Regions from separate parts of the Homo sapiens genome. Here regions 1, 2, 3, 5, 6 and 7 are each linked to region 4. Evidence: promoter capture Hi-C in 16 types of primary human blood cells and fetal thymus (Javierre and others, 2016). All regions are on one chromosome and are shown on one strand. The core of a region is centred on a gene start or on the middle of the fragment in contact, and the rest is flanking DNA. Distances in the headings are between cores, read along the strand shown.

Region 1 (4,252 bases), core at 1-2,500, 610 kb before region 4:
TTGTTGACTGGTTTTAAAATAGGGAAGGAAAATATTCAGAAGGAATCTAAAATAATCTTAAATCATTTGAAACTGTGACTCAGAAAAGAGACCTAGTCGGCGGGTGGGTGGGTGGGTAGCAGCGCTGGGCCTGTGTCTTGAGCCTGGAGGGAGTCTGCTCCTGCCGCCCTCTGCCCTGCCAGAGACAGACCCATGCGCTGCCTGCCCACTGTGCCCCTTTGTCCTCATGTCAGGCGGAGGCGGAAGGCCCACCGTGCCAGAGGCTGGGCACCAGCCTTAACCCTCACTCTGCTAGCACCTCCTCCCTTTCCCTGAGGCAGCACATCTGGCTCACTCTCCCCTCTGTCTCTGGAGTCCACCAGGGAAGGCCCTCATCCCCTGCTGCTACTTCTTTGGGGAATGTGGGTTCCATCCAGGGTTGGGGGCCTCTCTGCTCACCCACTCTGCACCCAGGATCCTAGTCCCCTGCCCTCTGGCACGGCTGCTTCCTGCAAGAAAGTAAGTCTTTGGTCTCCCTGAGAAGCCATGTCCCTCGTGCTGTCTCTTGCCTGTCCCACCTGCGCCCTGCCCTCCAGCTTGTATTTAAGTCCCTGGGCTGCCCCTTGGGGTGCCCCTCGCTCCCAGGTTCCCCTCTGGTGTCATGTCAGGCATTTTGCAAGGAAAAGCCACTTGGGGAAGGATGGAAAAGGACAAAAAAATTAATAAATTTCCATTGGCCCTCGGGTGAGCTGAGGGTTTCTGCAAGGAAAAAAAGAAAAGAAAAGAGACCTAGCCACTGGATTAACCCATGCAAAGATGAGACAGAGTCACCTATATACTCTCAAGTCTTTTTTGACCTGCACTAAAATTCAGTAGCCAGTAGCCCAAGTGGCTATTTAAATTTAATTACAATTAAATAAAATTACAACTTCAATGACATAAAAGGAAAATTCAGTTCCTCAGTTGCATTAGCCACATTTCATGTGCTTTGTGGCCAGAGGGGGCTAGTGGCTACCACATTGGGCAGCACAGACTTGGACCATTTCCATCACTGCGGAAAGTTCTTTTGAACAGGAGTGGTCTAGAGAATTCTCAGAAGGAGTCAGAGTGGCTACATTAAAACAGTAGGTTATACACTTTGGCAAGTAATTACTGCCTTCCTCAATATTCACATAATACCACCTGCTACCAGTAAGTTTTTTATATTCCTTTTGTCAATATGGTCTAAACTAGCTTAAATACTGACTACTGAATATGACTTTAATTATAATCTAAGTCAAAATATCACTCCTTTTCATTTTATGTGAGCAGCAGGATATATGACTGGAACCCATAATGAAAATACCTAAATAATAGTAATAATGATAATAACCAATTCAACATAGGAAATATCTTAAAGAAACTTACCCTCCTTCACTTTCTGCTTCCTCTGAACTATTACTTGTTGCTGAACTTTGAATTGTGGGGAGTCTTCTTTTTCTCGCTCTGTGCTGAGGGCTTATCTTATGAACAGTTATTTTCCCTCCAAGTTCATCTTGTATATATTCCTCCAGCTTTGGAATAGCTTCTTTAAGAAATCTGATTTCCTCTTTGAGTTCTTCCATATTTGTCAGTAATTCGTTTAACTTCTCCAGTATCTGAAGTTGCCTTTCTTGAAAGATTACTGTTGTTCCTTGGTCATCATGTATTTCATCTTGCAAAGTTATTGAATTAAATGTATTACCCAGAGAAAGAAATTCAGGTAACTTCATTGCTATCCCTGGTTTACGGACCTTGTGGTACCACAAGAGCAGCAAGCTGATTCCAGCAGTGCCCACCATGATGCCAAGTATCAACTCTTTGTTTGTGGAATAAGGCATTTCTTGGTTTTCGTTTCTAAAATTAAAAACATAAATGTAAATGAATGTTGTTTATGTCTTTGTCCAAGACAAAAATATAGGTGCTTTTTCAATCAACAAAAGCCAAGTTTACATCACAGGATTTACAAAAAGTAGGACAATAGCCCAAAGGGTGGGAAAGGACAAATGGAAGTATACTGTTGTAAGAGTCTTAGATTACAATGAAGAATTATCATATTAAGTTAAAGATGCATAGCTGTAAACCCTAGAATAACCACTAAAAAACAAACAAACAAAAAAACCCCAGGCAATACATATCAAGACAATAATAGAGATAAAAATGGAACACTAAAGATACTCACTTGGTCCAAAAGAAGGCAGGAAAAGGAGAAAAAAGAACAGATGGGCAAATAGAAAACAAATAGAAGAGAAATTACGCCATTATTAAGTGCGAAAATGGTGCCAAAAGATCAAGAAATAACAGGTTTTTTTTGCCAACAGAAAAGAGTCCATAAAAAGAAAAGAAAAATTGATGAAGTAGACATATAGAAAACTGCATAGCAATAAACTTGAGAAGGCAAAGGAGGTGGGCTCTATCGCACAAGCACAGGAGTTGACCTTTGATGGGAACATAAACCATTCATTCATAGTCATAAAAGGCAGATTATGTGAGCAGAGATTTAAATAGGTGGGTAGATGCAGTGGTGGGAGGTTATGCAAGCTCTCTTTGATTGCTTCACTGTTCTAAGATAGGAAGTGAAGATAGGAAGCAAAGTAAATAGCTGGGAGTGTGAATTGGGGAAAAAATATCAGTAAGATGAAAATTCTGAATTAGGTTGTATACCCGAAATTCACCATCCTCTGCTTTATATCCTGTGATTCCACATATTCTACCAAGCATTGTTTCTTACACTTCAAATGGCCAACTAAATGTAATGTTTCAAATGCTTCCTTGGTGGTCTACTGGTTAGGATTTCTGGGCTCGCAAATGCCCTATGGAAGAGGGTCTGAGAGAACAAGCAGCCATAATCTATTTCTGAAAAGCCTGCTTAAAATAAGAACGTCTTTGGATTCCTATTTCACTAGAGTATATGCCTGGAACACAGAAAGTATCCTGTTTGGATGTTCTACACTTCATTACAGGCCTAAGTGTCAAAGAGAAGGACTGACTTTAAAATAATCTTCCAGAAATTACCTCAGGTGTTAGTGAATATTATATCCAAGAGATTTAAGAATTCCTTCTTTTAAACCAAAGATTCCAGAGAAAGCCTTGGTACTTAATCTGGCCTGCTTTACCTCACAGAAATTTGCCTGGAATTAACTTAAAAAAATTTTTTTTCACCTAATTGGTATAACTGGGAACTATAACCATCTGCCCACTCCCAGCTCATCCAGGAGACATGCCAGCAACAGATTCCAATCAATTTGTAACTTCAGCTGAAATTGTAGCTAATTATTGCTAGATGTGTAAATGTATTCTACAAAAAAATTGTATCACAAAACTAAATTATCTTGAAAGCTTATTGCAAAAAAATAAGTCACTCTATGCCCATTAATTACAACTGCATTCCAGCTAATATTCACACATCAAGTTTAATCATCTTTATTTTTGTCAATAAAATTATTCAGGCAGGATGTCCATTCGCTGATATAGAGGTCTATTAAAGGAAATCTTCCTATTCTGATTGCTTTCTTTTGCCCATACCTTGGACTTTTACATTAAGAAATATAGCCTAGTTTGAAAATATTTTCATTTAATAAGCAAATAAGTAGAAGTAAAAATCTACCTAGGAAGGAGAACTTATTCTTGAGACAGGACCAGGTTTCAGCAGGTGGGAAAGTCTTATTTTGCTTGGCCCTTTCTTTAGGAACTGCACCAATTCCAAATCATCTCTTCCATGCAGGTCCTATTATTATTTTGCAGATAAGTGAACTGAGGCACACAGGTGTCAAGTCACTTACCCAGTGATCACCCAACTGGGAAGTGAAAACTGTCACCTTTGACAACCTGTTCCTAACTCTTGGATGCACCCACAACATGTGGGAGATTTGGAAAGCATCAACAAGGAGGTGAAGGAGAGTACTGACTGAACAGAGATGCTCAAAGCTGAAATATTATTTCAGAACCACAAAAATTAACTAGAAAAAAATAGAATCAACGGAGCTGATGTTTTAAACAAACACAATTAAAGACTAACAGTTCAAGCTATGTTTGAGTTTTATAACAGCATAAAACAAATGTGCTTCAACACTGATAATTTGAAAAATGACACATTAAAAATAATGTACAAAATACATCAGAGTACTTGCTTGCCTTCAGAATAATTTCAAAGGTTGTATGAAGTCATTTACATAGCTTTTTTTTTTTAGAGTCTCGCTCTGTCACCTAGGCTGGAGTGCAGTGGTACAATCACTGCTCACTGTAGCCTCGACCA
Region 2 (4,353 bases), core at 645-3,144, 520 kb before region 4:
TTCTATTGCCAAAGGGGAAGATAATCTTATGTGACTCACTCCCTGCCCTCAAAGGCAAGGAAATAAGATTGTATGTCTGCAACACAAGCAAGACCATAAGTGACTTTAAAAATTAAGAGATGTGAGAATTGAACTAATCTTTCCAGAATAATGATGATGATAATGATGAAGACGACTGACACTATTTAGTGTTTGTTATGTGCAGGGCACTGTGTTGTTTTACATACTGAGTAGCATTTACACACGCAAGGTAGGGCACTTGTATTGCAAGCAGATGGAGCAGCAAGAGCACAAGCATGGAGAGGGAAGGCTCAGGGCCCATGTGCAAACAGAGCACTTTGGTTAGAAGGCGGGGTACATGAAGGGCACTGGGGGGGTAACAAAGCAGAATGGGTAGCTAGGGGCATGTTATGGAAGATCTTAATTCTACAGATGATGAGGAGCCACATATAAATTTTGAGTGATTTCTATAATTGCTCCCACCCTCCCTGATAGAATTTATCATTTTTTCTCCTGTGCCAGTTGTATTATGTTAAGTTTTATAGAAACATCTGTATCCTGTAGATGTTTCCAAGTTTTTTTTTTTTTTTTTTTTTTTTCTTGATTACAAGCCTCCTTGAGAGCAAGGCGTGGTGCAGAATAGGCTCTTACATGTTGTTCAAAAGAGTCATCATCGCTGTTACCGTCAATCTGGCTGCAGTGAACAGAATGGACAGAGGGGGAGGCAGCCCAAAGGCCAAGAGATAGGCAATGAGACACAACATAGGAGAGGAAGTGTGGACTGGGATGGGGGTAACATGAATTGAGAGCGGGAAGCCTGTGAGAGACAATTTGGAAGTTAATGTTGGTGAAACAGAGCAACTGTGATTTGATCTATGTTGGCGGGTAAGATGGGGTGGAATTGGGGTCCAGGCATTACGAAGGGCTCCCAGGAGACATATTGCCAGGGTAGGCAGAAAGAGTCCTACTCCAGGGGAAGGCAGAGCTAACTGTGAAGATGTGGGTCTTGCTCAGTTGCTCCTTCTGCCTGGAATTCCCACTCACCCCCACTGTAAGTAATCCAATCATACACAACTTTCAGGAACATCTCAGAACATCTCAGAAGCCTGTGCCTTTTAGATGCCTATCAGAATCTCTATTTCTAGGCATTAGCTCTCCCACCTTCCAACCCATATAGCATTTTAAGCTTCCCATGTGGCATGTTCAGTTTCATGTCACACTTATTTGTTCTCTTACCCCTTCCTAACAGAACATAGGCTCCCTTTGTTCTGTGTTCATACCATTTTATTCATTTGAGTGGAACAACTGCCCTGATTCCAGAGCTTTATTTTCAGATCCAAGGGGAGGGGAAGAAGTCAACAGTGACTCCAAGGTTTTTGCCTGAACTATCAGAAGGATGGAGCTGCCATTAACTAAGATGGGGAAGAGCATGATTGATAAGAAATAGCAGGAGGTCATTTTTGGACAAGATATATTTGAAAAGTCTACTACACAGCCCACTGGAGATGTTGAGTGGACAGTTTGATATATAAATTTGAAACTTAGGAGTGAGATACAAGCTACAGGTATACATTTGGGAGTTGTTAACTTACAAAGGGCCTTTAAACGCTTCAGACTGGATGGGATCATCAGTAAACTGAATAGGGCTAGAAAAGAGAAGACATCCAAGGACTGAACTCTGAGGTACTCCAGAGTTTGGGGAGAAAAGGAATAAATAGCAAATGAGACTGAGAAGTGACTGATGTGAAAGAAGGAAAACAAACAAAATGCAGAGTCCTAAACATAGCAAGATTAAAGGATTTCCAGGGGAAGGGAATCATCTATTACTTCACATTATGCTACTAGGTCAAGTAAGATAATGACCGAGAATTGAATTAGCAATGTGGAGGTCATTGGTGAACTTGAAAGAGTACTTTTGGTGGAATGGTGAGGACAAAGGTTTGATTGGAATGAGTGTAAAAGGGGAATGAAGGAGAGGAATTAGAGGCAAAAACTTTGAGAAATTTTCTGTAACAAGAGAAGTGGGACACTAGATGGGTGGAAAGATAAACTGAGGTTTCTTTCTTTTTTTTTTTTTTTTTTTTTCAGAAAAAAAAAAAATAATAATAGAAATACCAGCATGCTGATAGGAGTAATCCAAGAACAAGAGGAAAATTAGTGCAGGAGAGAGAGAGAGAGAGTGAGAGAGAGAGAGAGAGAGAGAGTGAGAGAGAGAGAGACAGGGAGAGGAGAAAGAGAGAGACAGAGAGAGGAGAAAGAGAGAGGGAGAGGAGAAAGAGAGAGACAGAGAGGAGGACAGAGACAGAGAGAGGAGAAAGAGAGAGACAGAGAGAGGGAGAGAACGGAGAATTACAAGAGTGGTGTCCTTGAACAGGTGAGAGGGAATGGGAGCTGGTGTACAAGTATAAGGAATGGCCCTATAGGCACAGATGGTTCATCCATAGTAATGAGAGGAAAGGTAGAGCACAGTTGTGGCAGGTGAGTAGATATGAAATGGAACATTGTGGAAGTTCTTTTATTTCTGCTTCAAGTTTCAGGAAAGAATGGGAAATACTTGGGTGCCAAAGGAAAAAAGAAAATTCAAACTAGGAAGGCAAGCTTCTGTGTTGATATTTCAGCCAGTGTGGGGAGGCGTCAGGAGTTGGTCAGATACTTTCCTGGCTTGGATTTTAATGGCTATGGAGGGACAGAGACAAGATTGCGTGTCTACAAAAGGTGCTGAGATGGCTACGTAAAGCCTGGACTCTCAAAGGACACCACTGAAAGGTTAGACTAGAAAACATTGTACCTGCTGGGCATGGTGGCTCATGCCTATAATCCCAGCACTTTGGGAGGCCGAGGCGGGCGGATTGCCTGAGGTCAGGAGTTCGAGACTGGTCTGGCCAACATGCTGAAGCACCGTCTGTACTAAAAATACAAAAAAATTATCTGGGCGTGGTGGCATGTGCCTGTAATCCCAGCTACTTGGGAGGCTGAGGGAGGGGAATTCTTTCAACCAGGGAGGTGGAGGTTGCAGTGAGTCAACATCGCACCACTGCACTCCAGCCTGGGTGACAGAGTGAAACTCCATCTCAAAACAAAAACAAAACAAAACAAAACAAAAAAACAGAAAACATTTTGCCAGTGGCCCAGATGATCATAGGGAAACTCATCTGGCTATGAGTGAATAAAAGCATCCTGCAAAATGCAAATCCCAGGCCTAACCTTCTCTCAAATTAGTGGTTCAAATATATGTTACCCCAGGAACCTCAAAACCAGAGCCAGTGATGCCCATGGGACGCCTGTAAAACACATGAAAAATCCATGGATGGATGCTCCCATAGCTGCAGGGGATTCTTGCATGAAAACAAGCCCCACTAAGGATGAACTGATGGTCAAAAATTATAAAACAGAGGAAGTTTAAAAAAATCCAACATGAGTGAAAATAAACAGATCCAGCTAACGGGAGGATTGGAGGTGCAAATACTTGAGATAATAGAACAATTGACTAGAGACTTTAAAATATGTGTATGTAAATAATTAAGGGTATAATCAGAAGCGTAAGAAAGTAACAACAAAATGAAAATAGAATTTCTAGAAGTACAATAAAAAATCAGTTAGTATTAAGAATGCAATGACTCAATAAAATGGTAGAGAAGATAAAGATGAAGAATCAGGAAATTAGAAGATCTATCTAAAGAGTTGTCCAGAATTATCATAGAGATAGAGACTAAAACTAATAAATAGACATTAAAAGCATGGTGGAAAAAATAAGATGGCTAACCTATGCCTAATAAGAGTTTCAGAATATGAAAAGGAAAGGGAATAGGGGAAAGTTAAGATTTAAAAGACGAATGAGGCCAGGCATGGTGGGTCATGCCTGTAATCCCAGCACTTTGGGAGACCAAGGCAGAAGGATTGCTTGAGGCCAAGAGTTTGAGACCAGCCTGGGCAACATAGTGAGAGGAGTTGGAGGCTGCAGGAACTATGATGGCACCACTTCACTCCAGCCTGGGCAATTGAGTGAGATCCTGTCTCTGAAAAACAAACAAACCCTAATGACTGGGAATTTCCATAATTGATGACATAAGCCCTGAGACAAGAAGCACAAGTCCCAAAGAGGAAAAATAAAGTTAAATTCACAGCTAGATGCTTTGGAGTGGAAATGCAGACCACTAATAAGAAGAGAATAACTTAAAAGCCATCCAAGATGACAGACAATTTATCTAAAAAAGGAATATTTAGACTTATCATAGACTTCTTAACAGCCACCATACAGACCAGATGACAATGGACAAATACATCAATATGCTGAGCAAAAAATAAAAATCATATTAGAAATACTAGAAAAAATCATACTAGAAATATACAGCC
Region 3 (4,095 bases), core at 806-3,305, 620 kb before region 4:
AGAATCAAAGTTAGCTCTACTTTGTTGCCAGTAAGGGGAAGCATTTCTTTTTTGAAATCCAACAAATAAAGAATATCTTCTTTCAGAGAAAGATGGACTTGATACAGATAATAACCTTCTACTTGCTTTGGCTGCATTGACTTTATGTGTTACAGGGGAATAAGATGTTTTATGACCAAGAGATATACTTGGTTGTGAAATAGAAGAGGCTCCACGATGCTGGGCGTCTGTACTAACTTGATCTTCTGGAGAACATCGTTGGAAGCTCTGGTCCTCTTTGCAGCAGCTAAGAGTGAGAAAAGGGTCAAATGAGGAAAAAAAATAGGGAGCAGAGTGGAGACCTGCCAAGCCTCCTGAAGAATAATATCCACCTTTTGGTGTCCACCAATTGGTATTGTTTCCATACTAATATGAAAACAGCAGGGAATAAGAAGAATAGGGGAGCTTAAGTTAATGGTCACACAGATGTACCCAAAAGAATGCGGGAGTCTAAGAGGTTATCTCTACCTACACAGTACCTACCCACTCTATTAAACCTTGGGAAGAGAAGTTGAAAAAATCAGGGAAGCAGGTAGAAAGAAAGATCAGGGGAAACATATGCAAGGATACCAGAACAAAAAGATTCCCAAAGGAAAAGATAGAACTGGTTTTAAAGGTAATAAACCACAATATCTGTTGGAGATTACTAACTACTGTATTTAAATGAGTTAAGGAGAATAAACTTATATTCTGTTGACTAATTGTATTTTAAAATATTAACCATGGATGAAGCACAATCTCTCTGGGGAGAATGTTTCAAGTGAATATCTGGACAGTCCAGGATATCCAGTTATTATGGGAAACAAAGGAGAGCACTAAAGCTTCGTTTATGAATATTTTCAATGTTCTTTTAGCACATGTTGAAGTTTTTTTCTAAGGCTTACCTTAAGCACTTTCCCATTGTAAATTTAATCCAAAGTAAGTCTCTCCCTTCCCTTCTAGGCCGTCATCCTTAAGCCATAAAATGCCCTGTAGAGGTGGAACAGGTCAGAAGACTGAATGCTCAAGCTGCATGTGGAGTTAACATGGCAATAACACAGAATGTGATGACAGCAGACTCTAGAATCTCATGACATCAGTTTATATTAGAACTGTTCTGTAGCTCACCTTTCTCCGAAGTTGGAATTCACATGGCTGTGGAATGTGTTTCTACCTTCACTGTTGGAGGAGTCATCCAACAAATCCAGGGGTGGGAAAACAGCTGGATAAGGACAATAACATATATGACAGCTGTACAATCCTTTACCTTGGACCATCTCTCTCACCTTGGACCATCTCTCTCACCAGCTGCCTTCCACACCCCTGTACTACTAACTCCTTCTTCTTTCACTTGAACATTCTTTACCCCAGATTTTTGCATCCTTCAGTGATACGGAAAAGCAAATGTTAGAGACTTTGGCCTAAAGATACATTGAGAAGGGAAAAAAAGTTTAATAAGTAGCAAATGTCATTGCCACCACAAAGGAAACAAGCATCGTTCACCTTGGCAGTAAAGTATGCCATCTGACTGCTTGGGCCATTTGCACAGATTACGGGGATATGCTGTGGCACTATTTATCACTCCTCAGAACAACTGATACTCACCTAAATGCAAGGTTAATAGAGTTATTAGAAAAGAAACACTGTCCTTTCTTATCTAAACCAATTTGGGCTATTGTCCCCATAACAGGTATACGTGTATGTGTATACTTACCTATGACATGAAACACCCCCTCAAATACTTTTATTTACTGTGCAATTTCCTGATCCTAAATACTACTACCGCCTCTAGCCTTTGCTCCCTTCCTAACACCCTACTGCAGGAAACCCTTGAACAAATTCCTTTTAAGAGACCCAAAGCTCTCTAACGTTCACCATACAATGGTCGGATTTGTAATTTGATTTTAGTTTACATACAAACTAATAAAGTAATCTCTTACTGTATCATGGATGCTGGCAGAAGACATGAGATTCGTGGGTTAGAGACAGAAGACTTATGTTACTTACAGCATAGCAAAGCAGCATAATCACCAGGACATTTACATCAGTTCTCCTTTGTCCCACATTGCCACAGGGGCAATGCAGAGGGCCCAAGGACACTTGCCTTCACAGTGGATTGTGTTACAGGAAAGAACGCTGAGCTTAGATGATCTACCACTTCTATAGCAAGTAGTAAGCAAATCTGCTAAACCTGCTCTTGGTCCTGAAGGGAAACAGTAACTCATTCTTCAAGGTTGCTCACCAGAACCCTGAAAAATGGCCCACATAAAGAATGATCAGGGCCTTACATGTATGGCTCATGTAGCAAGATGTCTGGGAGCACAAGAAGCCCAAGGAGGACTGTCTGTCTCTGTAGCAATCTATTACATTTTCCCTCTCTTGTGAGACTACTGTCTTTTGTTCCTAAGCCGCACTAAGGTCTGATTGTCATTTTCCAAAAGGATCTCTTTTGCACATTGCAAGAACATAATACGTAATGCTTATAAAGTTTCTATAAAAAATTTTTCTTTGAAAAATTGGGCCAGCTTGTTGTTTAACACTCCCACCAATGGCCTCTAAAAGAAGCATCTGCTCACTGAGCTACCCCAAAGGAAATAATTATTTGTAACTAAATCTCAACACTGTCAATCACTGCTGCTCAGTCGAGGTAATAAAGAGGTCAGATCACTCCCCCGACCTTATTCAAGCAAATCTATGATTATGCAGACACAAAAAACGGTGTTTAGGTGTGTGCGCATTTGGGGGATGAGGAAGAAGATCCAGATCTGCTCAGACATCAGAAAAGAAATCTCATACCAGTACAGGAAATATCTAGAAGCTGATTAATATCGTTCTAGGTGAAGAACTTACCTAACCCTCTAAATGTCTGCAAATTGCCTCCTTTTGGCTTTTTAAGAGAACCAAAATTAGACTTAGCCCAAAAGCAAATAGTAACCCCTTATAATGACAAGCATCTAAAACATGTTCGTCCTTCAATTCATTCCCAATTCTCTTTATTATCAATTCCATGACCCCAGGTACCTTCTGCTTTTATCATGCCCTATGGCCACCCAACCCTCCTCCTTTTCTGCAACAGCCACTCTATTCTCACCTAGGTCAGTATTCCATCATTATACTCACTGTGCCCAATGAACCTTTTGTTTATCTGTAACCATAATTACCACTCATTACAACAAAAATTTCATCATGATTGCTCATGTGGATGTTAGAAAATCTTCTAGAACAAAGCTTCTCAAATGTTAGGGTGTATAAGAGTCACCCACAGAGCTTCTTAAAATGCAGATTCCTGAGCACTGCTCCCAGACATTCTGATTCGCTAGGTCCGGGGTATGTCCTAAGAACATGCATTTCCCACACTCTCACAGGCAAGACTGGATGCTGATGTTGCTGGTCCACAGACCACAATTTGAGTAGCTGTGTTCCAGAACATACGGGTCATGACGACCCCCAGAGTCAAGGCAGAAGCGTCTTCTGAGGTACCTCACAGCAGCTGCCTATCTAAGCTGGAGTCTAGAAAAGACAGTGAACAATACTAGGACTGAATGTCCCCCTCCTGGTACCTAGATGACAAGTCTCTTCAGAGAATCTACATTACACACGGGGAGAAGTAGGGGGCACAAGGGGAGAACCCTGACTGGGACTGAATCCTTAACACAAAGAACATGCCCCAAACTAAAAATTGACTGAGTTAACTTGAATTGACAAATTTAAGTTTTTCTACATTATTCAAAACAAATATCGTGAAGTACTCTGAATTCAGCTATTGAAAAATGCACATCTTTAGCTGATCTGAGTGTAGTATCATTCTTCAATAATAATACAAACTATTCAATTCATTACATTAATTTAGTTGTTTTTATAGTTTATCAAATGTGCCTGATTGTGGACAGTAACAGCAACATTCATTTTTAAATTAGCACCAGGATAACTGTTGTATTTCCTTTCATTACAACATTAAACTCTCCACATAAGTTCCCTGTTTGTAGTTTGTTACTCAGATGACACAGCTGTCTGCATGTGACTTGCGAGGCAGAAAAAGTATGGCTTTTTTAATGAATTTAGCACAAATGTTGGTTA
Region 4 (3,842 bases), core at 867-3,366:
AGATTATATTTTCTCTCAAGGATTAAAACATTTCACATGGCAATACACTTATTTATTAAATTCAATCTTTATCTCTGTAATGCTCAGGAATGGAACACCTTGAGGAAACTGTAGTTCATGTTAAGCAAAAAATTAGATACAAAGATAGTTCTTTGATCAAATGTGCTGAAAGATTTACCCAAAGTGGAGGAGACCGCTTTATTTTTAAAAAGAGAAGCAGAACAGTGGAAATAAAATGAAATATATACATTACATATCTCTGTTTTCACACATGCACACAAATACTTAAATCTCTGTATAACAGCAGTTTGAATCGTCTGGAAAAGTTACTTCTAGGAAGAGTAACTTCTGTCACTTTAAGTACTACAGCAGAAAATGGAAGTTAATAGTGAGATAAGACTGGCTGTAAACTGCTCCAATGAGGTCCTGGGAATCTTGCTCAGAGGCAAAATTTGGGGCTGGACTAAAACGTCTGTTGGGAAGTGAAAGGAAGAAAAGGGCAAAGTTAAGCAAGAGAGTCCTTTAAAAAGAAGGCAAACTTGAGTAAATCTACTTTCAATTTTAAAGTAAAAGAATAGCTGAATAGGACTCTAATAACAAAAATATAGTAAGATTGAATTAGATACTGCTGGATGTAAGACATTTAGCAACTTCCAATTCCTGAGAATGTTTCAGAAATCTTTTTTTAAATAGATTTTTAAATAAAGTAATCAAGGTTTTACACAATCTTACCTGCCTTATGTTTAATATAAATTATCTTAATATTTTCATTTCTTAACTTTAAATCCGAGGACATCCATTAAGAGTGATGATTTTGTATCAAAAGTAGGGGCTAATTTATGTTTATTTTTCTTTCTATTCTTGAAAACTGCCCTCTTGGCTGGGCGCGGTGTCTCACGCCTGTAATCCCAACGATTTGGAGGGCCGAGGCGGGCGGATCTCTTGAGGTCAGGAGACCAGCCTGGGTAACACAGCAAGAGACCTCGTCTCTACAAAAACTAACTTAAAAGTTAGTGGGGCGTGGTGGCACACGCCTGTAGTCCCAGCTGCTTGGGAGGCTGACGCAGGATAATCACTTGAGCCCAGCAGCTCCAGGCTGCAGTGAGCTATGATCGTGTCACTGCACTTCAGCCTGGATGACAGAGTAAAACCTTTTCTAGAGAGAAAGAAGAAAGAGAGAAAGGGGAAAAGAAAGAAAAAGAGAGAAGAAAGAAAACTGCCCTCTTGATTGTAGTCCCTCTGATTGTTTCAATATATTTAAGTACTTTTGGGATAAAATGTTGACATAAGGAGAATCATGTGGCTTCTGTGACAATGCCTGTCAGCTTCTCAGGCCTTTCTCTCACATAAGACATCGAAAATTTATGCACAGTGTATTTTCCCTCTAGATCCTTATGCTGCTGACTCCCACTCCCGCCCCACTCACCCGACACGGTCATACTTTGTTTTGGAGCAAAACAAATGTTAACATTGTGTTTCCAGACACCTGGAAGCCCAGGTTTGGTGATTCTGGACTGCACTCCACTTTGGTGGTAGGGTCACATTCGCGTTTAAAGGCCGACGGGGAGGAAACACCGAGCACCGGGAAAACCCCTGCAGTCACCGGAACGTCGGGCTTGGGACGTGCCGGTTTGGGCGCCGAGCTGCGGTGCCGGCGGCCACCCCGGGGGCAGGCAGCAGGGAGGAGCATGCGGGAGGGCTGTGACATCTCAGGGTGGAAGCAGCTCTCTGCTCTGGACGCCTTACAAGTCCCCCGTTCCAACTATCACCTCTGGCCCATTGTCGCCACCGCCTCCCTCAAGAGTGCACGGCAGTAGAGGAAAAGACAGTACCGTCGGCAACAGCGCGATCAAGTACCGCGTGTAACTGATAGACACGCTCGCGACTCCCGCGGCGCCCCTGCCCCGTGCCCCCGCGCTCACGAAGACGCCCGGAACTCGAGGGTGCGGAGCCAGCCCGACTGTACCCGGCGCTCCCGGCGCCCCTTCGCGGGGCAGAGACAACCCCGACCTCCCGCCGCGGCCACCTCCCGGCGGGCGCGGGCCGAGGAACTACAGCTCCCGGCAGGCCCCGCGCTGGCCGCGCGCCCCCGCCCCCCGCGCGCCCCGGCCCCCCGCCCTCCGGCCCCAGGACGGGACGGGGAGGGAGGGAGGAAGGGGCGCCGGAGGCGGGCGGGATCCTGCGAGGCGCGTGAAGCCTCGCTGGCGCCTCGTCCGGTACTCAGACGCTGGCGGGCGCAGTTTCTCACGACGGGCCGAGCCTGCCACTGTAAGTAGTCGCCTCGGGGAGCGCTGAACAGACACCGAAAAAGTTCGCGCCGCCGCCGCCGCCGCTTTGTTCTCCCGGCCCGTCGGGCTGAGGCGGCGGCGGCCCCTCCCCCATCCCCCAAACCCCCAACCCCCCAACTGCACGCGGCGGCGGCGGCGACAGGACTCGGACCCCGCGCCGGGCTGGGCGGTGTCAGCCGCGCTGGGCGGGAAGTTGGGGGAGCGCGCGGCGGGAGGTGGGCGGCTGAGGGGGAGCGGGGGCGCCGCCGCAGCCGCCAGAGGGGCCAAGTTCCGGCGTCCGCGCGGAGGGCAACTTGGGTTCGCGCTCCGCTGGAGACCACCGCGCCCGGCCCATCGGAGGCGATCCGTTCCCGGGTCTCCCAAACTAGTTCCCGAAGCCAGACCCGCGGCGCTCGCAGTGCCGAATTTTGGACCAGCTTTTTCGTTTCATTTCCTCACTTTGCGTTGTAGTCGTCTCAAAGGGGTGAGTAAATGGTGCTTGGAGAATGTAAGCCCCTCGCCCCAGTATCCCGACTGCGTTTGGATTTGCTAGTTGCAGCATTGTTCCGAGTTGCTCCCTCCTGGGAGGTTTTCCTTAAGCTGAAACACTGAGGAGTGCCACTGTTTCTTTGAGCAGTGAAAATAACCATATACTACTGTATTGCCGGTTGGGTATTTTATTTCAGGTGAACGCAGTCAGAGGCATAGGCCTTGCCGTCTGCAGGCACACATACGATTCAAGCGACAAGTGTGTGCGCGCGACCTGCCGACTTTTCCACACACAGATTGATGGCATGGACGTAACTGTGTCTTCAATCACACCCATCCCCACAGGAAATAAGACTATCGGTGTCATCTTTGATTAGGAAGGATAAGTTACACCCTGAACTGCTGCTTGGTGCGACACAGCTTTTATGAGACATAGCCACAAATGGAACAAGAACTTTTAAATGCCTTAATTTGTATCCTAGAAAATGTTATTTTATTCCTCTGAAACTTTTTTTTTACCCTTCTACTTAATGTCGTCGTTCTTACATTTTTAGCGATTTTCATTTTCCTTAGCTTTGCTGCAGAAGGCGTCCATAAAGTTCCCCCGACTGAGATCTAGGCCAGTTTTTCCTTGTCAACGAACCCTTGCTTCCTTCCCTGTTAGATTCCGAGTTAAGATCAAGCATGGACATTCAGCCAAGAAGTTAGAAGATTTTCTAAAAGTAGGATTTGAAACGTGTCACACAGAAACCGTGGAAGGTTTTTCTTCAGTAGGTAGTAATACAGTTGTGGTGGGCCTGAGTGCATGAGCTTGGAGTACTCCTTGACGAGCCAGGTTCCATCCTCGGTTCTATAATTTAGTATATAGCATTTCACATTTCAGGGTGACTCAGGTTCTGTAATTTAGTATATAGCGTTTCACATTAAGAATGTTGACTGATGTGTATCTTAAAACTAATTTTTTAAGCATCCTAGATAATGGTAAGTCTTTTAGAGAAAATTTTAAGCTTTCAGTTTCATCAGATAGCCACTTTAAAATAGAAATTTCTTTCTGTTCGTGGATTTAAACACTGCCACACACACAGA
Region 5 (4,120 bases), core at 488-2,987, 540 kb before region 4:
CCGGGGAAAAATCACTGAAACTGCACACAGCTGTTTACCTTTTAGTACCTAGTGAAGCACACCTGAGTGATATTTGCTTTTCTTTTCACAAAGGTCAACAACAAAGTTGCAAATCATCTAATGTATCTAAATTTTTAATATCAAATCACAACTTTGTAACTAAGATTTCCAAAAAAGGGTTATTCTATGAGTTACCTTGACTTTCAAAGCAAATACACAAAAGTAAAGAGAGCCTTGCTATTGCTCCTTCAGGATCTTATGAACTTGGCTATACAAATGTCATTCATAATCCATTTGACCTCTCACGTCTACCTCCCTAGAAACATTTTTCATAGTGGAAATTGCAACTAGAGCCAGTGGTCAGCTCTTCCACTCACCCCGCCAGCATTAGCAGCAGAGCCACATCCAGAAGTCCGGAGGCAATGTGAAACTTGGCTGGGGTCACTATGGCCACGGAACCTTGTTAAGAACAAAAAACAAAAGGTTGTGACCTTAGTCGCATCTAAAGGAAAGACATTCCTGCTTTAGATTATAAACTGGTTTGGATGGAAACCAGCTGATGTGTGGACACTCTGATGGTTTCAATAGGCTTTTCAGCTCTTGTAATTATCTCTCTGCTAAAGTAAATGTTAGTGTAACCATTGACATTTGATAAGTCACTCTGTGCTACCCAAGGCAGAAGATAGATAAACTTTAATCATTGTTTGGGTAGTCAATATGCATTTCTTATCATAGAACACTATCCTATTTTTTTTTACCTTATGTACAGAATATATTCACATAAATGTGCACTTACGTTGACATAATTGCACATGTATGCAAGTTTTTCTGCTTTTTAGTATGTGCATAGTTTTAAAACATGACACTCCTAGAGAACAAATGGTGACTTTCCTTTGCAAGTTTGAAGATCAGGCAGTGGTAATGGAGAGGCAGGAATGAGAACCTACTGAGAAAACACAGCAAATTAAAGATGAAGTGGTTCTGCAGGGACCACAGGCCTGTGGGGATGTGTTTTTGCTAAGACTGATTACATGTTGTCCTTTTCCAGCATCATGCATGGCACCCCTTCTCAGATTAGCGAGAATAATCTTTCTCAAAAGATCAGAAACATGCCGTTTCTCAATAAGGAGACAACCTGTCAAAATTATGCATCAATAAAACCATAACTCGAGGGCCTTAGTCATTTACAGCCATTAATTTCTTCCATCTTCTTTGAAATAGCCCCAAGGGAAGAAGCAAGTGACAAGCACTTCACACACGGAGACATGGCATACTAGGGACTCCTGCCAGCTCTACAGGATCCAAAATAGTTTTTTGGCATCTGAGCAAGGAATGGGTTCCAGGCTTGAGACAACTGTGCACATCAGAGGAATGGGTTCCCTCCCTCCAGCTGGGGCCCCAGCGAATCCTGCGGTCCTCCCGAGCAGGCTGCTCTGCTTTGAGGCAGCCAACGCTTGACAAAAGCCAGCTGGGAGCAGCTCAGACCAAGCCCATGCCCACACACTGCTATAAAAATGTTTTAAAGACCCCATTACATCTTATTTACTCTCCTTAGCAAGAGAAAGTATCAATGTCCTCCCCTCTCCTTCCAAAATAGGCAATATTGGCCTCCCTCTGGGGGTTCTTCAAAGACCCATTAATAAGAGCTCCTTTTCTGGGCATTACCAACTTGCACGTGAGTTGATGGAGATCAGTTTATTTCACATTCAACAAATGTTTCCTGAACATTCACTGTGTTCAGGGCACTGTGCTATGTCTAAGGGAAAAGTTCATGGAGGAGTAATAATCATGAAAAAAAATAACGGCTCAGGGAGGAGTAATAAAAATAATAATAATAATAAGAGCTCCAACATACTGTGCTTCCTACTATGTGTCAGACCCCATTGTAAGCATGTTACAGGATTGTCTCGCTTGATCCTTAAAAACAATACTGTAAGATGGGTATCGTCACTCCTATTTTACAGATAAGGAAGCTGGGATTCAGAGAAATTAAGGGACTTGGTGAAGCAGAGAATGCCAAGGGAATTGATTCAGTAGTGGACGGGGAGTCCCTGAAGACTGTTGAGCAGTGAAGAGACCTGATCGCATACTAAAAAAGTACATGCAATGGCAAGAAGATCAACTAAGAGGTAGGAAAATTAGCCAGGAGATAGGTAACATTCAGTGAAAAATGTGATGAAGGTTGACATGCAAATCTAAACAATATGCATATCTGCCTATATGTTTTAAGAACACAGACAACTGCAATAAAAACTATAAAGAAAAGCAAGGGAATTGTAAATGCAAAAATTCAGACCAGTAATCAGTTCTGGAAGGGTGGGCAGGTGCAGATGATGTAATTAGGGATGGAACATCAGAGGGCTTCCAGGTATTTAAGTGCTCTATTCCTGAGCTGCCTTGTAGGAACACGGGTGGCCATTGTATTTTTTGAAACCTAGATACCTGAGTTTCACAAACTCTCTCAGATCATAAAGCCCTTAGTGTCTCAACAAATTTTTCAGTGTCCCAAGACAAAACTAAATACCTGTGTAGGTTGTTAGGTCCCCAAATCTTAAAAGTCGTAGATTGTGTATTGTCCCTTGAAAACTGATATACGCTGTGAAGCCTCTGTGATTTCACTGTGGTGTCCTGGGTGCCTCAGCACAGAGACTGGGAACCATGACAGTGTAACATCATTTATGTTCATGTATGAAATGTTTCATGGTATATTTATATGTGTTAAAAATATAATTTATATATTAAATATATTATATGACACAAAGTTATACATAAATGTGTAATAAATTAATATTTAAATATAGAAATATGTCATATAATATTTATAAATAAAAGATAGAAAATATATGAATATATAAAATTTAATAAATTATACATTATATAAAATATATATTTAAATATAATAAACGTATTATACATTATATAGAAAATATATTATATTTGAACATAATAAGTGTTTGTTCAATGGTGAGGCCAGTGGAAACAGGAGGGGGTCTGTCTTCTTGGATTTTCTTGGCTCGGTGACTGACTGGAGGTGGGCACGGAAGAGTCAAAGGCCACATAAAATGTTGAGGCAGAACACGAGGAAAAGTGTGAAGTCAGTGGTAGGATCTGGCTGAGGGATTATGGGAAGGAATAAGTGTCGTTTGGGGTACAGAGATTTGTGGCAGCAGAAGGCATCAGATTGCCAGCTGGTTGAATATTTGGGACCAGCTTTTTGTCCCCAAGGCTTGGAGCAGGGGACAGATCCAGAGAATGCTACACAGAGATGGGGCAGGAGAGGAGAGACGACAGAAAGGCCAAGTGCAGGGATTACATGGTGAGGGCTGAGGGCAGAGAGTAGGGAGACCCCTATGTGTTTGCACAGGAGGAGAGAGAGGAGCCGGGAAGAAGTGATGGAGGAGCTTTTGGAGAGAATGCGGGGCAGAGAGCAACGGAGCACAACCTCACAGAAATTGAGGGAGACCTTTCCAGAAAGAGGGTGGGGTTGGGGAGGTTGTTAATGGAGTCCAATACTGGGACAGTCACAGATAAGAAAGGTGGATCAAAGCCATTGGAATGGACAATCATGAAGCCATGAAAAACAGATGGTGGGTTACTCTTGCTCTTTGAATACATTTGAAGGTAAAGAGAGGGGGTCAAAGAGGTAAAAGGACTTTTTCTTGTTGCCTTGTGAGCAACGGAGCACCTGTGCTCACTTCTAGGTAGAGAGAACAAAGCCAAGGGAGAGGGAAGCTTTAAAACAAAAAATCAGAAGGGAGGATGATTGGAGCAAAGTTACAGAGGGGGCCCAGGACAAGAAAGATGAGGGTGTCATCCTCAGAGACAGGAGGAAAAAATGAATGACTGAAGCTTCAAAAGGAGAGACATGGAGAAAGGTCATGTCTATGGCTCGGTGTCTCAGGAGAGTGAGAGGACAACCTGAGGGAATGAGGCTTGGGTGGGGACTTGAGGAGAATGGGAAAGACTTGGGGAGCCAATCTGAGAGATGCCTGAAAATTCATGAATCTTGTCCAAAGGATTGTCCAGCAGCCGTGAGGGTCATCTGCAGGCTCGATAGCCCGTGTCAGTGGCTTCAGTCAGCACAGCCCTGCGACTGTTCTCCTCAGTGTTTGGCAGCTCA
Region 6 (4,404 bases), core at 1,194-3,693, 590 kb before region 4:
CCCAGCACTTTGGGAGGACAAGGCAGGTGGATCACGAGGTCAGGAGTTCAAGACCAGCCTGGCCAAGATGGTGAAACCCCATCTCTAGTAAAAATACAAAAATTAGCTGGGTATGGTGGCGGGCACCTCTAATCCTAGCTACTCAGGGGGCTGAGGCAGAGAATTGCTTGAACCTAGGAGGCAGAGGTTGTAGTGAGCCAAGATCACGCCACTGCACTCCAGCCTGGGCCACAGGCAGAGACTCCAACTCAAAAAAAAAAAAAAAAAAAGCCATCTAAAAACACTGCAAACAGGGTGTCAGAGAAACCTGTATCAGAAGCAGAACTAGAATTGGAGACAAGTCACTGAGGGGATCTTACCAAAAGGATGGTACTGAGCAGATAGAGAAAAAGAGTATAGGGATCCTGAACCCCCAGAAAGAGCAAAGATGCTAAAGGAGTCCATTCTTGTTTTTCCTGGGATTGATTATGCTACCCTTAGCTGAAAACAAGAACTGCTAAATAACCAGCCCGTAAGTTGAAAGAACAACACCTACTTCCCTATGGGCTTGTGGAGACGGGTCATCTCAGCAACTGCCAGCAGACCCCTTCCCCAATAACACACACTCCAACTTGGTTCTCAGGTCTGTGCAGGAAGAAATAACCCCCTAGTAGAGGGCAGTGCTTATAAAAGAGAAGCTAGCTGCCCTCTTCTACCTGTGGGGCTTGTGAAGAGTTGGGTGTTTGCCCAGAGAATTGCTGATAGTGCAAGAAAGAAGGGGATCTATCCTCTACATCTCCTGTCGGAGGCCTGCGGAGTCAGGGCTCGCTCTCCTGCACCTAGGCCTTGTAGTCTAGGAAGCGCCCTGGGGAGAATGGCAAGTAGTGTGACCAAGTGGAGAGAGTAATGTTCCCAAGAAATACTGAAGATAGATCTTATCAGTACCCACACTCACAAGGGTGGTAGATGTGACTGAGGGCTGCAGAAATGCTGGGGGGCCATTATAGGGAGGGGGGGAAGGGCATGTGCAGTCACAAAAGTGTGGCTTTTTGCCTTCCCCTGGGTGGTGATTGAAAAGGTTTGAAAGAGATTGCCATTGCTTAGGAGTGCTATTTTGGATGTGTCCACACTGTCAGGGCCACTTGTACCCTCCACCTGTCCACACCCAGGGTACAAGGATTCCATGAATTAGATCAGCTGTGCTGACTAAGAGAAAGGATACAGGACCTGAATGCCCCCACTGACCACCTCCATCCCCAACTCTTCAGGTTAAGGGGAGCATCGCAACCAACCAGAAACAGGGCACCCGGCATGCCCTGGGCAGCCACCTGAGGAACCGTCTTTTCTCCTTCTCCTCCTACCTGCACTGATAGCAGAGGAGCAGGAAAGGGAGAAGGTGAAGACAGTGAAGATGGAGAGGAGTGATGGAGAATATGGCTAACCTGATCTAGAGTGAGGGGAGAGAGCTGCTGAACTGGAGATTGAGATGATTGAGATGCTGACTGGGCTACATTTCCATACATTTCCTGACTGGAGTCAGGCTGACACATGGTCAAGGAAACCCACCATGCAGTAGGAAAAGGGAATTTGATAGAGCATAATTGACAGCAGTTTGGAGAAATAAATTCATTCCATGTGTTTATTAGGATTCTCTAAAGGGACAGAACTAATAGGATATATGTATAAATGAAGGGGAGTTTATTAGAAGAATTGACTCACATGATCACAAGGTGAAGTCCCACGATAGGCCATTTGCAAGCTGAAGAGCAAAGAAGCCAGCCCAAGTCCCAAAACCTAAAAAGCAGGGAGGGTGACAGTGCAGCCTTCAGTCTGTGGCCAAAGGCCTGAGAGCCCCTGGCAAATCACTGGTGTTAAGTCCAAGAGTCCAAAAGCTGAAGAACTTGGAGTCTGATATTCGAGGGCAGGAAGCATCCAGCATGGGAGAAAGAGGAAGGCCAGAAGACTCAGCAAGTCAAGTCTTTCCACCTTCTTCTGCCTGCTTTATTCTAGCCGTGCTGGTAGCTGATTAGATGGTGCCCACCCAGATTGAGGGTGAGTCTGCCTTTCCCGGTCCACTGACTCAAATGTTAATTTCCTTTGGCAACACCCTTAGAGACACACCCCAGAACAATACTTTGCATCCTTCAATCCAATCAAGTTGATACTCAATATTAACCATCACAGTGTTACATATGTATAAATGAACTGACATTAGAGGACTCTATTTCTGAAATATTTGGAGTTCACCATAAGAACTTGACTCACCTCCCTGTTAAAATCCAGTTGTCTTGGTTTTCATTCCTTATGACTATTGATATTCATCTGTATAGGAAGAAGGAATGGATTCACTCTCTTCCAAGCTTAATATATAATTCAGTAGCAATTAGTTACCTTAATGACTTTCAGAAACCCCAATGCTAATATTACACCCAAAGGAAAGATGGAAAAAATTATCTCCTTGTCAGCATTCTCTGGGAACTGTTACCTGAATCAAATAGGTCCCCGGAGGAATGGCCAAATTAAATTAATTTATTTTTACAACATAATAGCATTCATGAGCAAGCTTTGGGATTGCTTGCACTTCAAATCAAGAAGAATTCCGTTACTGAAAATTTAAAACCAGCCATATTTGCTTATCATAATTTAAAGACATTTTTATCAATAAAATAATTCAGCATTTAGATTTTAAAACAAATAGAAGTACATTAATTAAAGAGATAAAGCACCCTGTCCTTTTCACTGGATCCTGCTTTCCAGAGGTAAACATTGTTAAGATTTTGAGTGTACAATATTTTTGCATATGAATGCAAATTTCTATGATGTATAAACACGTGTGTATGTTATATATACTGTTTAAACCATATAATGTTCTGCAATTTTTTTCACTTAATGACTAGTTCATTTTGATAACTATTTCATTGTGAGAATATACCGTAATTTTTAACTAGCCTCTGAATTAATAGACCTCTAAGTTATTTCCATCACTGGCTATGAAAAACAATGACTCATTGCAAGTACATTACAAGAAAGAAAAAATAAAATCAGTGCCTGTCATCCAGGAACAGATCTGATGTAGTAGGCCTCAATGTTATTATAAACTAATGTGATGCTTATAGCTAACCCATACTGTTTTCATAGAACATCCAGTTCTGACAAGGATGCTGTGCAATACAAAATGCCAAACACCTGCCTCTCTTAATAAATGAGTGACTGCTAATTCTTTACTAGTTACAGCTTTATCCTAGCTCTTGCCTGCCTTCCCTATAGATAAGATTTACTGAGATACCCAATGACTGAATTGCTTCCTTTCTGACGGTATCAAGAGTGTTCTGTGGAACCTCTCTAAAACTATCCAACTAAAACCCAAATTCTATAATCTGCTCATTCTAATATCATCTTACTGAGACAACCCACAATCAGCTACAGGTGTGTCCCTGATGGTCTTTATTGGAGGGTATTAACAATTTAGTTCTTTAAATATGTAGGTAACATTTTTAGAACTGGAATTCCTGAGTCAAAGAGATCAGTGTTTAAAATTGTGGTAGTTATTGCCTAATTACCCTCCACATATTGCACAATTTTAAAATGCTCACCAACAATTTTTCTGTTGGTTGCTAGCCTTTTCATACAGTTATGTAAAGTTTTCTTTATGATGATGATAACGACTGCAATGAACTAGACACTTTGCTAAGTGATTCCCATGTAACAGACAACGTATTATTAATGCTCATAACAAACCTATGATATAAGTACTGTTGTTCCCGTTTTAGAGATGAGAAAACTGAGGTGGTTAGAGGCTATGCAGTTGCCCAAGGTCACTTGGCCAGGAAGTGCTAGAGCTGGAATTTGCCCTGTCTAGCCCCAGAGTCCCTGCTTGTATCCACTGTACCATGGAGCCTCATTACAGTAATAGAAAATGTGCTGGGTCTACATGAAAAAGTTAAAGCCGTATTGAGAAACATAAAGGAAGGCTGAAATGAATGAAAAGCCATACTATATTCTTGGACACAAAGATTCACTGTTTTAAAGATGCTATGTTTCCTTATATAAATCCACACATTTTCAACCAAAAACATTTCATTTTGGTCCACTTGACAAAATAACTTTAATGTTTAACTGGAAGAAGAAAATGTAACAGTAACCAGGAAAAGTCTGAAAATTAATAATGAAATTGGACTAGCTCTCCCAAGTACTAAAATTTACTGGAACCAGTGCAAGTATTAAAATTTACTAGAACCAGTGCAAGGATAGTGTAATTAATGGAAAAGACTAGAGCCCAATAATAGACCCAGATGTAGACGTAGACATTAGAAACCGATGGAAAATGAGGAACTACTTAGGAAATAGCAAAATTATAACTGACTAGCCTCATACAAAAAATTTTAGATGGATGCCTACTCTGCTACACCAACAGATTTAGCCATA
Region 7 (4,224 bases), core at 95-2,594, 560 kb before region 4:
GGAGGATTGCTTAAGCCTGGGAGGTCGAGGCTGCAATGAACCAATATCATGCCACTTCACTCCAGCGTGGGTGACAGAGCAAGATCCTGTCTAAAAAAAAAAAACAACGCAAAACCAAAACAACAACACAAACAAACAAACAAAAACCCCTTCTGAGGAAGGATTTCCTAGCCAGTCTCTTTCCAAACCATCCCCTAAAATATGACTCGGCATTAAACTTCAAAGCTGAGTAGTTGTTTATATTACTAGATATAAAATTGGATATGAGGGTGATGTGGCCAAGACATCCCTCCACTGTGGTCAGAAACGAAATTGCAAAGGTTTAGGGTCAAGATGTTTTCCCAGTTGAGGTGTCAGTTATAAATACCTGTTTTAAAGACTCTCAAACAAAGTGGTTTGATTTCTTTTTGTTGTTGTTGTTGTTGTGTTGTTGTTGTTTGTTTTTGAGATGCAGAGTCTCGTTCTGTCACCCAGGCTGGTGTGCAGTGGTACAATCTTGGCTCACTGCATCCTCTGCCTCCTGGGTTCCAGCGATTCTCCTGCCTCAGCCTCCCAAGCAGCTGGGATTACAGGCACATGCCACCATACCCTGCTAATTTTTGTATTTTTAATAGAGATGGGGTTTCACCATGTTGACCAGGCTGATCTTGAACTCCTGACCGCAAGTGATCCACCTGCCTCGGCCTCCCACAGTGCTGGGATTACAGGTGTGAGCCACCGGGCCCGGCATGCTTTGATTTCTTAATGGCCCTGTAAGAGTTTGGCTTAACTTCATCCTAAATGAGACTTCAGACTGTGAACCATGCTGAAGGAATCTCTTGGACCGCCTACCTCAAAGCTTCTGCTTGCAACCACAGAACACACACACCCCACACCATTTGAAGTGTCTGCCTAGCATGTGACCATCTTTGTGGTTATAATTTTCAAATATCTATTTCTGTACCCTTTTATGGAGAATTCAAATCTCTAGTAGAAAATCCTCTTCTAACAAAACCTTCCCATTGCATTTGAGCAACCCACAGACCACTTGGAGAGCTTTCAAAGACCAGACTTTGGGAACCTGTAATTTAGAGCATCAAAGGAATTAGGATGTCTTGAGTTGAGGAGGACCAAAAAGGTACTTGGTACAGTCTCCTCCCAAAATTTGAAAATGAGTAAAGCAAGCAAGTTATATTTATTTAGATATGAAAACTGACTTAAAGTGATTAACTGTGGAACCTAGATGCCAGCTGAGACCTCCCCTGCCATTTGGGGATTTGGAAAACTTTCTATTGGGACTCTACTGGACTCCTGCATTCATGAATATTGTTTCATCTGCCTTCAATCTGGAAACTTCGACTCCTCGGAAATTTCTGTAACTGGTCTTTCTCTTAATCATCTCACAAAGCTAGTGATGTCACAGAGAAGTCCCAGGGAGTTATATGACATCGTATTCCACATTCTGCCACCTCCTGTGCTCTCCTTTCTCCTCTCTTCCCTCCCCCACTTCCTAACCTCATCTCCACTCCTTCACAAGAGAGCAAATGATCCTGTCTCCTTGCACTGTGTGCCCTTTCCAGACGGTCTTAGCACCAGCTAAGATCCACTACCACCCTCCCCACCCCCTCAGAGACTCACCTGCTCTAGTGGCCCTATTGAGGATTTTTCCAACAAGTATGAGATTCCTGTGAAGAGGGTATTATCGGCCAGCCACTGAAATAATAAAAATATCTTCATCTCTTTTTGTATATGGCAGACAAAAAGATCATAAAATCATGAAACCACATGAAAAGCTATTTAGTTTCTTCCTCCACAGAGGAAGATCCATGTAGAAAAGCTCAGAGCATGCCTAGGTGATGTCAAAAGCTTCACCTCCATAATTCCTTCCCTTAGAGGGTTCAGCAAATGTTAATTACCTTAATCTTATGCCTCTCTCAATGCTATTTAAGCAGCGGGAGTGATTTGCAAGGCAGTAGGGCTAGGAAGGGTCTGAAGTCCCCTGCCAGGGCAGGCATTAACCCTTCAGTTGTTGTATCATGGGATGATCCAGGGAGAATTGAGAGGGACAGAAAGAGTCTGAGCAGTGAGGGTAGGGAGGAGGAGGTTGGAGGGAGTCTTTAGGGGAGTTGGAAGCTATTCAGTTGGTGCAAAAGTAATTGTGGTGTTGGCCACTGAAAGTAACTATGTATTTCTATGTAGAAAGAGCTCTGCTGGAGTCTACAGAAGGCACACACAATGGAGAGCTCTGGCTTTAAGGATGCCACAGGCGGAAACTGACAAAGGTGTTGCCAGAGGGATTCCAGGAATTCTGAGATGCTGAGGGGAGGTTGTGGGGCAGGGAGCACCTCAGGCTGATGTGGAGGTAGACAAATAAAGGCTAGTAAAGACACACACCCATCTGAGAAAAGACGTGTCTTTGTAGGTTTGCAGGTAATATTAGATGAAACCAGAGAGCTCAGCATTGAGAGCAGATGCAAATGGTGGCAGCAAAGCAAGGCACTAGCTTCCAACTGTTCTTAGAAGGAAATCTTATGCCAAAGCTGAAAATGTAAAATGGACTAAAGCAGAACTATGCAGTGGGGATGGGGTGGGATAAAAATACAGTCTGAGAACTGCTGGTTCAAAAGAAGACCCTCAGTGGCAGGTGCTTTACTGAGGGGTTCCTGACCAAGATCCCCACAGGTAAGGCGTCAGATTCATCAGAGTCTGAGAGACCAACTCAGGCTAGAGACCAAGTGTAGGAGACGGAGGTCAACACCAAATGTCAACTACTCTTCTTAGTGAGAAAAAATGGACTGGACTGTTTACAATTTTCTGTACTTACTATATGGCAAAGTGAGTCGTAATCAGAAACCACTTTATTAATTTATCATGAGAAAGCATGATCATCAGTCTGGAACTGTGATTCAAAGTCTGTATCTTTAACGTTCTCTTTTCATATAGACATATGGAAGAACATAATCAGAAGGACTCAACTAAGGGGAAATTAAAGAATGAAATCAAATTTTTAATCACATCAGCTAAAATATTCTGATATTTCTATCTTCTAAATCAAGAGACTCCAAATTTTGATGATAGCACACCTCAATCAGCAAAAACTACTGGGGCCCACATTGCCAGTATAGGCCTATTTATTTATGAATTATGTGTACCTTCTACTGACATTTTGAACATTAAACATCAATCAAAATTAATTTAAAAATGGGCCGGGTGTGGTGGCTCACGCCTGTAATCCCAGCACTTTGGGGGGCCAAGACAGGTGGATCACCTGAGGTCAGGAGTTTGAGACCAGCCTGACCAACATAGTGAAACCCCGTCTCTACTAAAAAAACAAAAAAATTAGCTGGGTGTGGTGGTGGGTGCCTGTAATCCCAGCTACTCGGGAACCTGAGGCAGGAGAATCGCTTGACTGGGAGGCAGAGGTTGCAGTGAGCCGAGATCATGCCATTGCACTCCAGCCTGGGTGACAGAGAGACCCCATCTCAAAAAAGAAAAAAAATAGTTCGAATATTTTCTTTACTTGTTACAGTGGAATATTTCAACTATCATTTAATAAAAGAAATAGATTTTACATACATGAATTTCCTGTGTATGACTCTTTTGGATGGATATATTGAAAACATTCTATAAAATGCATAAGATGCGTGACAATTACTTTCCTCAGGTGTGCTCTAATGAGATTATTATAGTAACTGTATGGTAACTATTGTCATCCCAATATGTAGAAACTCTGATTCCAAGCTCCTAACTTTTGTGTTTGCCCTTTGTCTACCTTTGAAGAGCATGCTGCTTCCCTTCCTTGCATGGAAATACCATGATCATTAAAAATATTGAAGACATCAAACAAGTAAGCAAGTCTGACTGTCCGTTTCATATCTGCAAAAGTTAGGACTAAACTGATTTCTTATCTTGCAGAAACATAACTATGACTTCATGTCATAGTTCAAACATCCTTGACTTGACAGAACATTTCCTTTCAATGACCATCCCACCTCATCAAGAAACGATTGTTATTGTTTGGATCAGTATCCATATTAACACATAATAAAGAAAATGATTTGAATTGAACATATTGGCTGTGAGGTCATTCAGTTTTTACTATATCACTAAGCACACTGTGTAGTTCGGCTGACTTGTAAAAGGTTTTTAACAGGATTTTCTCAATGAAGAAAACTAGAAATTAATTAACAGTCACTGGCACAAGCTCCTTAAGCTGGGTAACCATTCCATAATGTTTTCCTGTCA

The links. The method cuts DNA at HindIII sites, captures the fragments that hold promoters and counts their contacts. A CHiCAGO score of 5 or more calls a contact.
Region 1: a contact is called between a fragment that was not itself captured here and the fragment with the promoter of PRKD3 in region 4, in 3 of 17 cell types (naive B cells, naive CD4 T cells and non-activated CD4 T cells). The highest score is 6.6, in naive B cells.
Region 2: a contact is called between a fragment that was not itself captured here and the fragment with the promoter of PRKD3 in region 4, in 15 of 17 cell types (total B cells, naive B cells, naive CD8 T cells and 12 more). The highest score is 14.9, in total B cells.
Region 3: a fragment that was not itself captured here is called in contact with the fragment with the promoter of PRKD3 in region 4 in 1 of 17 cell types (M1 macrophages); the score reaches 5.9 in M1 macrophages.
Region 5: a fragment that was not itself captured here is called in contact with the fragment with the promoter of PRKD3 in region 4 in 12 of 17 cell types (M0 macrophages, M2 macrophages, endothelial precursors and 9 more); the score reaches 9.8 in M0 macrophages.
Region 6: a contact is called between a fragment that was not itself captured here and the fragment with the promoter of PRKD3 in region 4, in 3 of 17 cell types (M2 macrophages, total CD8 T cells and activated CD4 T cells). The highest score is 7.5, in M2 macrophages.
Region 7: a contact is called between a fragment that was not itself captured here and the fragment with the promoter of PRKD3 in region 4, in 12 of 17 cell types (M1 macrophages, fetal thymus, total CD8 T cells and 9 more). The highest score is 9.0, in M1 macrophages.

What each region holds. Positions count from the first base shown.
Region 1 is chr2:37,926,864-37,931,115 of GRCh38, reverse strand. RMDN2 (regulator of microtubule dynamics 2) reads right to left here. Exons shown (of 11, transcript NM_001170791.3): 2 at 1,387-1,854. The coding sequence starts at 1,838. Among named protein-coding and RNA genes, the nearest start is that of RMDN2, 3.7 kb to the right of the region's middle. The HindIII fragment of the contact is 4,176 bases long and covers 1-3,338 here.
Region 2 is chr2:37,844,324-37,848,676 of GRCh38, reverse strand. All of the region lies in intron 2 of PIRAT1 (PU.1 (SPI1) induced regulator of S100A8 and S100A9 alarmin transcription 1), which reads left to right. Among named protein-coding and RNA genes, the nearest start is that of PIRAT1, 29 kb to the left of the region's middle. The HindIII fragment of the contact is 1,412 bases long and covers 1,189-2,600 here.
Region 3 is chr2:37,947,424-37,951,518 of GRCh38, reverse strand. The region is part of intron 2 of RMDN2 (regulator of microtubule dynamics 2); the gene reads right to left. It overlaps RMDN2-AS1 (RMDN2 antisense RNA 1), which reads left to right. Exons shown (of 4, transcript NR_102712.1): 4 at 982-1,185. Among named protein-coding and RNA genes, the nearest start is that of RMDN2, 24 kb to the right of the region's middle. The HindIII fragment of the contact is 2,386 bases long and covers 863-3,248 here.
Region 4 is chr2:37,323,107-37,326,948 of GRCh38, reverse strand. PRKD3 (protein kinase D3) reads left to right here and starts at 2,116. Exons shown (of 19, transcript NM_005813.6): 1 at 2,116-2,268. PRKD3-DT (PRKD3 divergent transcript) reads right to left here and starts at 1,868. Exons shown (of 2, transcript NR_183394.1): 1 at 1,427-1,868; 2 at 185-472. RefSeq lists a silencer at 1,756-2,385 and an enhancer at 3,026-3,105. The HindIII fragment of the contact is 7,598 bases long and covers 1-3,765 here.
Region 5 is chr2:37,863,123-37,867,242 of GRCh38, reverse strand. PIRAT1 (PU.1 (SPI1) induced regulator of S100A8 and S100A9 alarmin transcription 1) reads left to right here. Exons shown (of 4, transcript NR_110012.1): 2 at 1,965-2,129. Among named protein-coding and RNA genes, the nearest start is that of PIRAT1, 11 kb to the left of the region's middle. The HindIII fragment of the contact is 3,994 bases long and covers 1-3,734 here.
Region 6 is chr2:37,910,875-37,915,278 of GRCh38, reverse strand. No RefSeq gene overlaps it. Among named protein-coding and RNA genes, the nearest start is that of RMDN2, 12 kb to the left of the region's middle. The HindIII fragment of the contact is 203 bases long and covers 2,342-2,544 here.
Region 7 is chr2:37,883,551-37,887,774 of GRCh38, reverse strand. No RefSeq gene overlaps it. Among named protein-coding and RNA genes, the nearest start is that of PIRAT1, 9.8 kb to the right of the region's middle. The HindIII fragment of the contact is 1,007 bases long and covers 841-1,847 here.